2 separate regions of the Homo sapiens genome follow, and region 2 is linked to region 1. The links are contacts of gene promoters, found by promoter capture Hi-C in human tissues and cell types (Jung and others, 2019). All regions are on one chromosome and are shown on one strand. Each heading gives the region's core, a stretch centred on a gene start or on the middle of the fragment in contact. The rest is flanking DNA. Distances are from core to core; before and after follow the strand shown. Region 1 holds the start of UMOD (uromodulin). Region 2 has its middle 80 kb from the start of GPR139.

The links. The method cuts DNA at HindIII sites, captures the fragments that hold promoters and counts their contacts. A contact is called where the count stands out against the background at its distance.
Region 2: a contact is called between a fragment that was not itself captured here and the fragment with the promoter of UMOD in region 1, in 2 of the 25 tissues and cell types used here (small bowel and thymus).

The regions. Positions count from the first base shown.
Region 1 is chr16:20,351,107-20,357,973 of GRCh38, forward strand. It overlaps UMOD (uromodulin), which reads right to left and starts at 1,609. Exons shown (of 11, transcript NM_003361.4): 1 at 1,583-1,609. The HindIII fragment of the contact is 15,409 bases long and covers 1-6,867 here.
Region 2 is chr16:20,150,433-20,156,672 of GRCh38, forward strand. It overlaps the pseudogene SALL4P3. Among named protein-coding and RNA genes, the nearest start is that of GPR139, 80 kb to the left of the region's middle. The HindIII fragment of the contact is 5,218 bases long and covers 1-3,885 here.

The DNA.
Region 1 (6,867 bases), core at 359-2,858:
ATGGAATAGTGTTCTGGACTCACCACTTTACTGAAGGCAGCTTTGGATTTTAACTGATCCTCTGCCTGGAAACTTTCAATTTGCCTGGATCACTTATTCATTCAACAAACATCTATTGAGTAGCTACATTGTGCCAAACAGGGAGCTAGTCACCATGGAGAACAATGAACATGGCAGTCTGCTCCTTCATGCAACTCACATATCGTAAAGAAGTGGCTTGAGACGAGCAACTTGAGAGGTAATTAACCTTCACAATGCATTTAAATGTTTCTGGAGTGGTCACTTACTATTTCTTCCAATTGGAAAAATAGTCCAGGGTGGATGCCAGTATTACCCCAGTGTTTATAGCAGCAAAATAGGGTGGCATGTTGGTTAAGTATGTAGGAGCTGCAGCCTGCACCTGAGGTTCAAATCCCTGCTTTACTGATCACTAACACTGTGATGTGGGTATTTCAGTTTACTAAGTCTCCGTTTTTGTCTGTGAAATGGAGATTGTTGCTTTCACAAACTGAATATCTATGATGGGCCAGGCTCAGTTCAAAGACATTCATGTGCTCAAAGGCATTGGGTCCTAGAGCAACGTTTTCCAGATCTTCGTGACCATGATGTACTAAAAGAAAAACATTTTATGTTGCCAGGTGCAGTGGCTCATGCCTGTAATCCCAACACTTTGGGAGACTGAGGGGGTGGATCACAAGGTCAGGAGTTTGAGACCAGCCTGGCCAGCATGGTGAAACCCCATCTCTAATAAAAATACAAAAATTAGCCGGGCATGGTGGTGGGCGCCTGTAATCCCAGCTACTCGGGAGGCTGAGACAGGAGGATTGCTTGAACCTGGGAGGCAGAGGTTGCAGTGAGCTGAGATCGTGCCACTGCACTCCTGCCTGGGTGACAGAGAGTCCATCCCCCCCCCCCAAAAAAAAAAAGACAGAAAGAAAGAAAAACATTTTATGTCATGATCTAGTGCAGTCGCTTCTGCATGTATGTGCACACACACATAAAATTTTATAAGACAATTGATATCCTTACTACATTAAGTGATTTAATTCTTACCACAACCCTATGAGATAAGTATTATCCTAGTTTGCAGATGAGAAAACAGGGGGACAAAGAGGCTAACTGCTTGCCTCAAATTTGTATTGCTTACTGACATATTCTATTATATTTAATTAAAAGAAGTCCCTGGATATAACCCACAAAAGGAATGATTTTATGACCCGCTAATAAGATGCGACCTAAAACACTGCATATTGTCACTGGGATTAACTAAGATGACATATGTCGAGCAGGGCCCAGCACATAGCAAGTTGTTCATTGTTGTAACCCTGGTACCTGGCACATAATAGGTGCATAACTAATATTCATGGAATAAGTCAAAAAATAGTAGTCATTGTTACTAGGACAGAGAGGATCAAAGAGAGGAAAACTAACTTACTAAAGATCATGAAGCCAATAATTGGCAGAATAATGACTCAAATCCAGGTCTGACCCCAGTGTCCAAGGTCTTAATTTCCTCTCCTACCTCCCTCAAATAGGATGGGGAGAAGCTGGGCTAGGAGAAGACAGCTACAGATAGCCTTACCTGAAGCCAGAAAGGTAGAGTTAGTCTGGTCATGATGTGCCTCATACTTATATATACACATTTGCCCCAGGCTGGCAATCTCTCCTCCAATTAGTCTCTAGTTCTGTTTTTTGATATTGTTTTCTTGGGGGTGGAATATTTTTTCCTCCTGGCATAATGTTTGCCTTGTCCAAGCTGTGAGGTTGTTGTTGTTCTTTTTCCTAATAGCTAGAGACCCCAAATGATTGACATTGGGGGGTCACACCTGTGCCCGGAAATACAAGGTCACTGTTTCGCACCTTCTAACAGCAAGAGATTCCATAGTTAGAAATTAACTGGGAAAGCAGTGCCAAGGTGCTGGGCTTCTTCTTGGTCACTGACAAGGGCAGGGTGGGATCAAGGAGCCAGGCAGAAGCCAGTATCTGAAGCCAGGCTGCATAAGGACAAAAGGGATATTCACTGCCCCAGATGGGAGGTGCACCTGTCTTGGAGAGGGCACCCTTCTGAAACACCCATTCTCATGAGATCAGCCTTAGAATCCAGACACAAGCAAGAGAGGAGCTGAGAATGGCTGAAAGTCAGAACCAGAAGGTAGTTCAGACATCACTGGACCTGACCCACTCTGTACAACAAAGAATCAGGTCTGATGACTGGGAGGTCCCTTTGGAGGCGAAATAAATTTGCACTTAAATAGACTGACTTTGGAGTCAGTCTGCCTCCTTTATCTGGTGTTTATTGTGTGGCAGTGGGCTCATTTCTTAACCTTCCTGAGGTCCAGAGGTCAATTTCCTTGTCTATAAAATGAGAATACCCATCTCCCACAGTAGTAATAGTAACCAAAGGAGATGATGCAAGTAAAGTCATATAGTAATGATTATATTCATGGAAGTAGTGAAAATTCTGCTTTGCTGTTGTGCAATCACTGAGGTAGAAAATGACAGAGCCTGAGTTAAAACCATGTCTTCAGACCCAGTTCAACATACATGACATTCCAAAAGTCAGTGTGAGAGTGGCTGTCATCATGTTGAGAAAAATAAAATATGTGTGAACTTGGGCTGAGCAGGAAAATATCACCATGATCACTGCATTGATCTTTTTTTTTTTTATACTTTAAGTTTTAGGGTACAAGTGCACAACGTGCAGGTTTGTTACATATGTATACATGTGCCATGTTGATGTGCTGCACCCATTAACTTGTCATTTACATTAGGTATAACTCCTAATGCTATCCCTCCCCGCTCCCCGCATCCCACAATAGGCCCCTGGGTGTGATGTTCCCCTTCCTGTGTCCAAGTGCTCTCATTGTTCAATTCCCACCTGTGAGTGAGAACATGCGGTGTTTGGTTTTTTGTCCTTGCGATAGTTTGCTGAGAATGATGGTTTCCATCTTCATCCATGTCCCTACAAAGGACATGAACTCATATTTTTTATGGCTGCATAGTATTCCACGGTGTATATGTGCCACATTTTCTTAATCCAGTCTATCATTGATGGACATTTGAGTTGGTTCCAAGTCTTTGCTATTGTGAATTGCTCTTTTCAGGACATTTCTCCATCCTGTCCCACTCAGTGGTAGGGTAACCACTGGCACTGGTGTTGTCATCTCCTCAGGATTATGTCCAAGGAGTGGAAATTCTGGGTCAAAGAGGTAGCACAGCTGTAGGAATATTGACTCCTCTTCCCAAACAGCACCCCAGAGAATTATTATAAATTGGTTTACAATCCCACCAACACTACTCACCAGTTCTGAGCATTGGTAACTTGCTTTCATCTTTGCCAAAAGGATAAGTGGAAACGATCTCATTATTGTTCATTTTTGCAATTCTTTGATGAAAAGGGAAGTTATCTCTTCATTTATTTACTTTTTTTTTTCTGAACTAGTCGTTTTTATCCTATACCTTTTTCATGAGGCCTTGTCTAAACCTTATTATGGGTGTCTTCAAAGGATTAAAGACAGTGACCCCAGGTGGCTTCTGGAGTTTTCTTGACAAAGACTTGGGCAGGAAAATGGGGAGTTTGGGTTGGAATCTATTCATAAGTGTAATCACCATGCTTTCTAGTTTCTGTATTTGGTGCTTGTACATTTTGGGGCCTTACTGATCATGGAGGGACTGCCCCTCCCAGGGCTCAATAATTACTAGAGATCAAAAACGACTTATCTGTGAATGTGCCTTTCCGACTGCAAATCAATCAATCCAGACCACATACCCCCAACCCTTGGCCTCCTTTTTGGGGCTTTTACACTTAGGGTCACTACTTGCTGCTTTAGATCACCCCAAGGGACCAGGTACCAGACAACTAGAGACAACTCCTATGGCCCAGAGGTCTCTGAAATTATTCAAACTAAGCCAATCCTAAATCTGCTTACCTTGCCTCTCCCATTCCTTCCTGCAGAAACTACAATAAAGGCTCTTTCCTGCCTTTTCCCTTGCTCTCTTTGCTTCCTGACCGACCCTGGTACTTCCCAGCAGCTCTTCCTCTCCCTTCAGCCCCTCTGCCCAGTGTGGTGTGTCCCCTTCTCTTGGGATCTGTGAGTATAACAAGTTGTCAGTGGCCATAATTTCCTGCTCTGTTGCTCATCAAGTTCACCAAAGACATCCATGTTACCAAATTCAATCAATATTTTTCTCTTTATCTTACCTCTAGGACAGTGCACAATAAATATTTGTTTTTGAACGAACCTTAATCTCTCAGCACTTCGCTCTTGAAACACTCTTCTTTCTTTCTTTCTTTTTCTTCTTCTTTTTTTTTTTTTTAATGGAGTCTTGCTCTGTCACCCAGGTTGGAGTGCAGTGGCTCAGTCTTGGCTCACTGCAACCTCCACCTCCCAAGTTCAAGTGATTCTCTTGAATCCTTGAATCCTCAGCCTCCCGAGTAGCTGGGATTACAGGTGCATACCACCATGCCCGGCTAATTTGTGTTTTTTTTGTACACATTGGCCAGGCTGGTCTCGAACTCCTGACCTCAGGTAATCTGCCTGCCTCGGCCTCCCAAAGTGCTGGGATTACAGACATGAGCCACCACAACCAGCCTGAAACACTTTTCTCTCTTAACTTTCAAACATGGGTAGGAGACTTGATCTTAATAATGCTGAGAACAATCACCCACTGAGCACTTCTCTTGGGTCAGACACTGTGCTCAGTGCTTTTGCCTCCATTGTCTCAAACAATGAAACACAACAACCCACGTCACAGGGAAGAAGACAAGTTCAGAGAGGTGGAGTAACTCCCCCAAGATTACACAGCTAGCGAGTGTTAAATCCAGACTAAAACTCAAATCTCACTCAGATTTACCTGCATTCCTTGGGTTACAGAACATTCCATGCTCAGCCATGACAGGGTCTTAGAAGGATAAGTGGTTTTAGGTAGTTTTGGAAAGAGTGAAACTAAAGGGTGGAGAGTTTTGAAAAATTGATCAAACAGAACACAAAAACTTAGAATGAGAGGTTGGTGTGTGTCAGAAAGCGGCAAAAAATGAGCCAAGGGAGAAGATCCCCCAAAAGAGGGGTATTACCTGTCCCACCTACCTCTCTGAGCACACACCTCCTGAGGCTCCAGTTACGCCTGGGGGACCTGGAGGTGGCACACCCATTCTCTGGCTCGTGGCCTGTCAGGGGCTCTATGCCACATGATCTAGTCTAGGCAGCCCCCCGTAACCCTCCTTCAACTGGCAGCCACATGACCTCAAGGCCGAGGCAGGTGAGCCTTACACCGTGTCCTGAATACTAACACCTGCTCCTGTTGGGGAATTCGGCTCAGGTGAGTTCCAGAGCCGCAGGCTGTTCCCTGCTTCCTCTGGTTGTGGACAGGCCAGGTTCAGGGTGAGGGGCATGGGAGCTGTCTCTGGAGGTATGAGAAAGCACAAATAGCCTTTGCCTTACATGACAGGTGAGGAGTGGAGAGACCCAGGTGGTTTCTAGAGACCTCAATTTCTAAAAGAATGCTGCCCTTCTTTTCTCAAGAGAAGGCCTGGCTGAAATGAATGACACAAATCCATGAGTTAAATCTGTGGTAGGCTGAATAATGACCCCCAAATACGTTCACCTCTGAATCCCCAAACCTGTGTGTGTTGCCTTTTATGGCAAAAGGGACTGTGCAGTGTGATTACAGATCCTGAGATGGAGAGGTTGTCTGGGCAGGCTGGATGCAATCACAGTGGTGCCTATAAAAGTGATGCAGGAGGAGTCAGAGGAAGTAGGTGTAAGGATGAAATGAAAAGTCAGAGTGATTCTAGGACAGAACCATAAACCAAGGAATGCAGGGGCCTCCCAGAAGCTAGAAAAGGCATAGCAGGGAATTCATCCAAAAGGGACTAACTCGTGAATTTAGTCCAGTGGAATTGATTTCTAATTTCTAGCCTCCAGAACTCTAAGAGAGTAAGTTTGTGTTGTTTTAAGCCACTTAAGTGTTAATTTGTCAGATCAAAAATAGGGAACGAATACAGATTCCAGTTTGGATCTGGGGACAACACTGTCAGCACCTCTGCCTTTTGGGATGACTATGAAATTATGTATTTCTCACCTAAAATGGAATATTTGATTGATCCACGAGCATTTATTGAGCATCTACTATGTGTCAAGCAGAGTTCTAGGCAAAGGGAATACGGCAAGAAAAAAAACAATAGATATATCTACTTTCGTGGAGCTTACATATTAATTGGAGAATCAGGCAATATATCATTGCACAACAAAATAAGATGCTTTCAATTTTTAGTCTCCAGGAATGCCTTTTGGAGGTGGTGACAGGTGAGCTGAGATTTGAACCAAGAAAAGAACATGGCTATGTGAGGAACTGGGGGAAATGTATTTTGAAGGGAGTGCATTTAGGCAGAGGGAACATGAGGAGAGAGTGAATTTGGCTTGTTCATAGAGTAGACAGGAAGTGTGGCTGGGGCCTAGAATGTGAGGGGGAGAGGGAGAGGAGGAGATCTGTGGGGCCAGACCTTTCAAGGTGTTGAAGGCATGGTAGGCAGACTAGATTTTATTCTAAAAGCAATAAAGATGCCATTACAGCAGCAGTCCCCAATCTTTTTGGCATCAGGGACCGGTTTCCTGGAAGACAATTTTTCCAGGGATGGGGGTGGGAAGGTGGAGGGGGTCGGAGGGTGTCGTGGGGGGTCAGGAGGGAAATGGTATGAAACTAGGAAATAAGAAATGGGATGAACCTCTTCAATGGCACAGATCTAATGCCAGATCATCAGGCATTAGATTCTCATAAGGAGCCGGCAACCTAGATCCCTCATATCCCAGTTCACAGTAGGGTTTGGGCTCCTATGAGAATCTAATACCCAGGTGGAGCTCTGGCGGT
Region 2 (6,240 bases), core at 27-2,526, 200 kb before region 1:
CCAGCACACTCAGTAGTGGAGAGAAGTATCTAATGAACTCTTGTGCACCCAACACAACTCCAACAATCATAAAAATGTTGCCAAGCTTGTTTCATCAAAACCCCCGACTTTCTTTCTTTTATTTTTCTGGCTGGAGTTTGCCAAAGTAAATCCCAGACATCATATTATTCTACTGCAGACATAAAGGAGAAAGACTTTTTTTTTTTTCTTTCTCTCTCTCTCTACAGTGCTGCATTGCCATTATCACACCCAGAAGACCAACGATAATTCTCCAATAGCTTTCAGTACTCAATCCACACTGAATTATCTGAAATGAGAAATGATGAAGGACGGGCCACTGGTCTTACTGAAATAAAACTTGACACCTTCTGACATCCATCTCCTTGTTGAATACATTCTCTCTTCATCTCTCTGGTGTCTAGTTTCTATCTCTTGGGACTGTTCGCTTCTCCTGCTACAGAGACTTTCCCTTGGCATCATCTCTACCCTCTGCTTGAAAGAGCCTATTGATTTTTTGGAAGATTTGGAGAAGAGGCCTGGCACAGATTTACATAGGTCCTCTCCTAAGGGAAGACCAGGTCTTCCAACTCACCTTCAAAGATGGAGAGGATTTTGCAAGGATGCCTGTAGTCCAGTGAGGGAGACACTAATGCCTATCTTGCTAGCCAGATGTGCAAGATCAAAAGTCAGTCATTCTAGCAGCAGATGCTGTTGTCAGGGCACCTTGAGATACCATTTGTGTCAATCTACTTAGGTCTGTCTGCTTGACTCTCTAATTCATCCATCTGTTGCTCTGTTTGTCTATCACTAATCTATTCAAGCATGTGCCTATCTAGCTAGTGATGATTCTCTTAAATCTATTTAAGTGATTGCTCTAAGCTGCTCATTGGTACAAGTAATTCATCCCATTACCAATAATTACTCAAAGCCCATTGGTTTTTGCCCTACCAACTCATGCCGAATTTCAGTCTCCTGAAAATTCAGCTCATCTTCAAACGCACTGTATATTTTACTTACTTGATGTTTTGCATGTCATTCTCTCTGGATTGTAAACTCCATGAGGGCAGGCCTTTTGGTCTATTTTGCTCATTGTTGTGTCCCATAGCCCATTTCCAGGCCTGGCGTATGGTAGGTGTTCAATACATATTTAATAGGTGAATGAATGAATGAACAATTATCATCCCCATTTTACAGATGAGCAATAGGGGCTCAGGGAGGTGAAAGAACTTGCTCAAGGTCATGTCTAAAAAAGAGAAAAACTGACCTTTGAACACAGGACCATCCAATTTATAGGCATCATGCTCCTAACAGATTGCCATATTGCTTCCAGCAAATTAAATATTCCATGGCAGGAGTTATATTCTCGTTGCATTCTACTGTCTCTTCTGGAAGTTTCTGTTATTGTCAAACCTGAAATCCTCTATGTTGTTTTTTATTCTAGTCACATAGAAGACATGATTTAGAAAAATTTGGATTTTTGATATACCTTTTCTCTTTGATTTGGGCACTGTATGTCTTAGAAACAAGAAAGTTGATTTGGCTGTAATGTGAACATGGGAAAAATGCAATGAAAATTATCTTGGGGCTTCCTTTATAGGCAAAAGATGTTGGGATATATGTTTTGGGGTTGTAATCGTTCATCTGACAAAAAGTCCTTCTTATTTCTTCATTTTAGCAGATATTTCTTGAGCATCTGCTGTATTTCAGGCACTCTGCTGGGTGCTAAGAATGTAACAATGAATGAGACACAGAGGTTAATCTCTGTTGTTGCAAGATGACCTCCAGCAAAATATTGGGTCACCATGAGCATATATATATAAACAATATTTAGTTAATATCTTTTACATACTTGACTAATCTTTTAAAACAATTATTTAATTATTATCTTTAAATTTAATTAACTTAATTATCTAACTACTTATATGACAGCTCTTTTTAAAATCATTCAACTAATCATTTGTGCTTATTTATTAAATTTTTCTAATTTTAAAAGAAATAGTCATCTTACGTTGGATTACCTGTTAAGGATGTTGAGAAAAATGTGAGATTATGCAATTTTTAAAACTTTATGCCCAGTCGCAGTGGTTCACGCCTGTAATCTCAGCACTTTGGAAGGCCGAGGCAGGAGGGTCACAAGGTCAGGAGTTCGAGACTAGCCTGGCCAACATGGTGAAACCCCGTCTCTACTAAAAATACAAAAATTAGCTGGGTGTGGTGGCGGGTGCCACCACCTCCAGCTACTCTGGAGGCTGAGGCAGGATAATCGTTTGAACCCAGGAGGCAGAGGTTGCAGCCAGCTGAGATCATGCCATTGCACTCCAGCGTGGGCGACAGGACGAGACTGTCTCAAAAAACAAAAACAAAAACAAAAACAAAAACAAAACTTTACCGTTTGAGGCATATGTAATTGTCATATGTAACTGTTGAAAATAAGGGAAACATTGGCAATTTCATATAGTTCAACTTAAACATGTTATCTGACTGTAAACTAAAATATTGGACCATCTTGTTTAGTTCTAGGGCTCATCTACTGAAAGTAATGTCATATTTTAGCGTTGGAGCTATCGTGAAGTATATGCTAAAAACTTGATCATTATAGTAGGGTTGGCTTTGGGAGGTTATGTGAAGAAGTCATACAACCTCATAAAGAGTCAGGAAGGTGACGTGAAAAATCACCTTAAGAAGACTGAATATGTATCAAGCCTGTAAAATGTTAATGTAACCTGATTTAATATATTAGCAGAGTCAAATAAGGAAAGTGTCAGTCAAAAAGAGACAGGCAGGAGATTGTGCAGCCATGGAGATGAGAGAAAGGAGAAGGACCATTGGGATACTCAAGTCAGTACTGTCCATCTAGAAAGAAATTTTGACCAATAGAAATTTTCTGTATCTCTGAGATAATTTACATATGATAAAACCTTCAGTGTTAAATTAAATGAATTTTGGCAATTATGTACAACTATGAAACCCAAAATATAGTACATTTTCTTCACCTCAGAAAATTCCAGGCCCTTTCCAATCAAAACCAACCCCCTTCCAGGCAACCACTTTGTGATATTTTTCACTTTGAATAATGTAACCTATTCTAGAACTTGGTATAAGTGGAATCATCTGTATATATCCCTTTGTGTAAGGCTTCTCTTGCTAAATATAATGTTTTTGAGATTCAGCCATGTTTTTGGGCATATAAGTAGCTTTAAAAAATATTGCTGAGTAGTATTTTATTGTATGAATATACTACAATTTGTTTATCCATTCTCCTGCTTAGGATTGACCAGCGTGTATCTTTTATTGTGATAAAACATATATATAACATAAAAGTTACCATTTTAACCACTTTTAAGTATGTGTCATTTTCATTGGCACTAGGCACATTTATAATTTGTGCACCTATCACCACTACTTATCCAGAACTTTTGATCATTCCAAACAGAAGCTCTGTAGTTATAAAACAAAAATTCCCCATTCTTTCCCCAGACCCTACCCCCCTGGTAACCCCCATACAACTTTATGTCTCTATGAATTTGGCAATTCTAGACACCTCATATAAATGAAATCATACAGTATTTGTCTTTTAAAGGCTGGCTTATTTCAGTTAGCATAATGTTCTCAAAGTTCATTGGTGTTGTAGCATGTGGCAGAATTTCATTCCTTTTTAGGGCTGAATAATATTCCATTATATGTATATACCATATTTTATGTATTTGTTCATTTAATAATAGACACTTGTGCTGTTTTCACCTTTTGGCTACTGTGAATGCTGCTGCTATGAACAATGGTGCGCAAATATATGTTTGAGTCCCTGCTTTCAATTCTCTTGGGTATATACCCAGAAATGGAATTGTTGAATCATGTGGTAATTCTATGTTTAATTTTTTGAGGAACTGCCATACTGCGTTCTATAGTGGCTGCACCTTTTACATCCTCACTAGCAATGCACAAGGGTTCCAATTTCTCCACATCTTTGCCAACACTTGTTATTTTCAGGTTTCAATTTTTTAAAATAACAGCCATCCTAATGGATGTGAAGTGGTATCTCATTGTGGGTTTGATTTGCATTTTGCCTAATAGCTAATGATGTTGAACATCTTTTCATGTGCTTCTTGGGCATTTCTATATATTTGGAGAACTATCTATTCAAGTATTTTGCCTGTTTTTGAATTGGGCTACTTTTGTTGTTGTTGTTGAGTTGCAGGAGGTCTTTACACATTCCAGATATTAATCCCTTACCAGATATATGTTTTACTAATATTATCTCCCATCCCATGGGTTCTCTTTTCACTCTCTTGATAATGTCCTTTGATGCACAAAAGTTTTTACTTTTAATGAATTCCAATTTATCATTTTTTTTTCTTTTGTTGCCTGCACTATTGGCATCATATCCAAGAAACTATTACCCAATCTAATGTCATAAAGATTTTCCCCTATGTTTTCTTCTAGGAGTTTTATAGTTTTAGCTCTTCCATTTAGGTCTTTGATTCATTATGAGGTTTTATATCCTTTTGGTATATGATCTGGTATAAGGGTCCACCTTCATTCTTTTACATGTAGATATCCAGTTTTCCCAGCACCATTTGTTGAAGGCATCATCATTTTTCCATTGAATAATCTAAGCAATCTTTTTAAAAGTTAACTGACCATATATATGATGATTTATTTCTGGACTCTTCTATCCATTGGTCTGTATGTCAGTTCTCATTCTAGTACCAAACTGTTTTGATTACTGTAGCTTTGTAGTAAGTTTTGAAATCAGGAACTGAGCATCCTCCAAATTTTGTTCCTTTTTCTTTTTCAAAATTGTTTTCGTTATTCAGAGTCCTTTGAGAGTCCATAAGAGTTTAAAGATGGGTTTTTCTATGTCTTCAAAAAAGCACTATTAGGGACAGGGCAAATAACTGTGGCTCTCTGGGAACACTGAGGCTCACACCACATCGAGGCACAAGCTGGTAAAACCCCAGCACATCAACTTGAACGAGGACCAGGGTGAGCAGCAGCCACAGCAGCTGACCCTAGCATTTGCAGATGCGGGCCCAGTGGTGCTGGTGGCCTGGGAGCTGGGGCTGCTGTAACAAACAACCACAAACTGGATGGCTTAAAACAACAGAAATTTATTCTCTCACCGTTCTGAGGCCAGACGTCCAAACTTTAGGTGCTCCAGTGAACCACCCAGGGAATCACGATGATAAAGCGGCTTCATTGGGAGGAAACACACAAATGTGAGAAATGTTGTGTGGAGTTCTTTAGCATTTGTGAGTTCTTAGAACATAAGAAAAATTGCACTAAAAATCCACCTGTTGTGTTGTCATCATGAATGACAGCGAGGGGTCAGTGTCTTCAGGAGACTTCTCCGGAGCTGTGCTGAGCCACCAGCCACTTAGTTCAAGCAGTAAGGATGGTCACAGGGAGAATGGTGGCAGCCTAGGGAGCATGAAGGAGGAGCTGGGTGTGGAGTGTGTGGTGCACTCAAAAACAGAGATGGCCTTGCCACCCACACCCCAGAAGATAAGCTATTTACTTAAAGGCAAAGTGGCCAACACTATGTGAGCCTGCAGGCAATACAGGGCACCAAAGTGGCAATGAATCAGTGGAGCTTAGATGCATTGCCAGCCTCCGTGCCCCGTAACAACAGCATCCCATGGGTCCTTGAGTAGATCCTGTGTCTGCAGCAGCAACAGCTACGGTAGATTCAGCTCACCAAGCAGGTCCTCATCCAGGTGGACATGTGGGCCTTACAGCCTTACACGCCTTCTACTCAGGTGGGGAAGGGGCCAACACCCTGAAGGCCTTGTGCAGCCACCTGCTCCAGCAGGCTTCTGCGGCTGTGGCTTTGCTCAGCCCAAAGGCTGGAAGCCAAGGTCTGTCTCTGGACACCTTGAAACAAGCCATACTACCTCACACCAACATCCTTTTCACCACCAGTTCTCCATCCCCAGGGCTGACGCCCTTTGCTGTGAAGCTGGATGGGACCAGGGTGAGCCAAATGTAATGTCCCACCTCTTGAGTGCTTTGCTTTCTCAGGCCCCGGGATTGGTGTGCTTCCAAAGTCCTTTCTCCACTGTAGCACTAGACCCATCCAAGAAAGGGAAGGGGAAGCCACTGAACATCTCCTCAGTGGATGTTAAACCCAAAGACGAGGTGATCCTCTACAAGGACAAGTGTAAGTACTGTAACAAGGTTGTTTGAGACTGATAGCTCCTTGCAGATCCACCTCCACTTCCACATGGGAAGAGAGACCCTTTG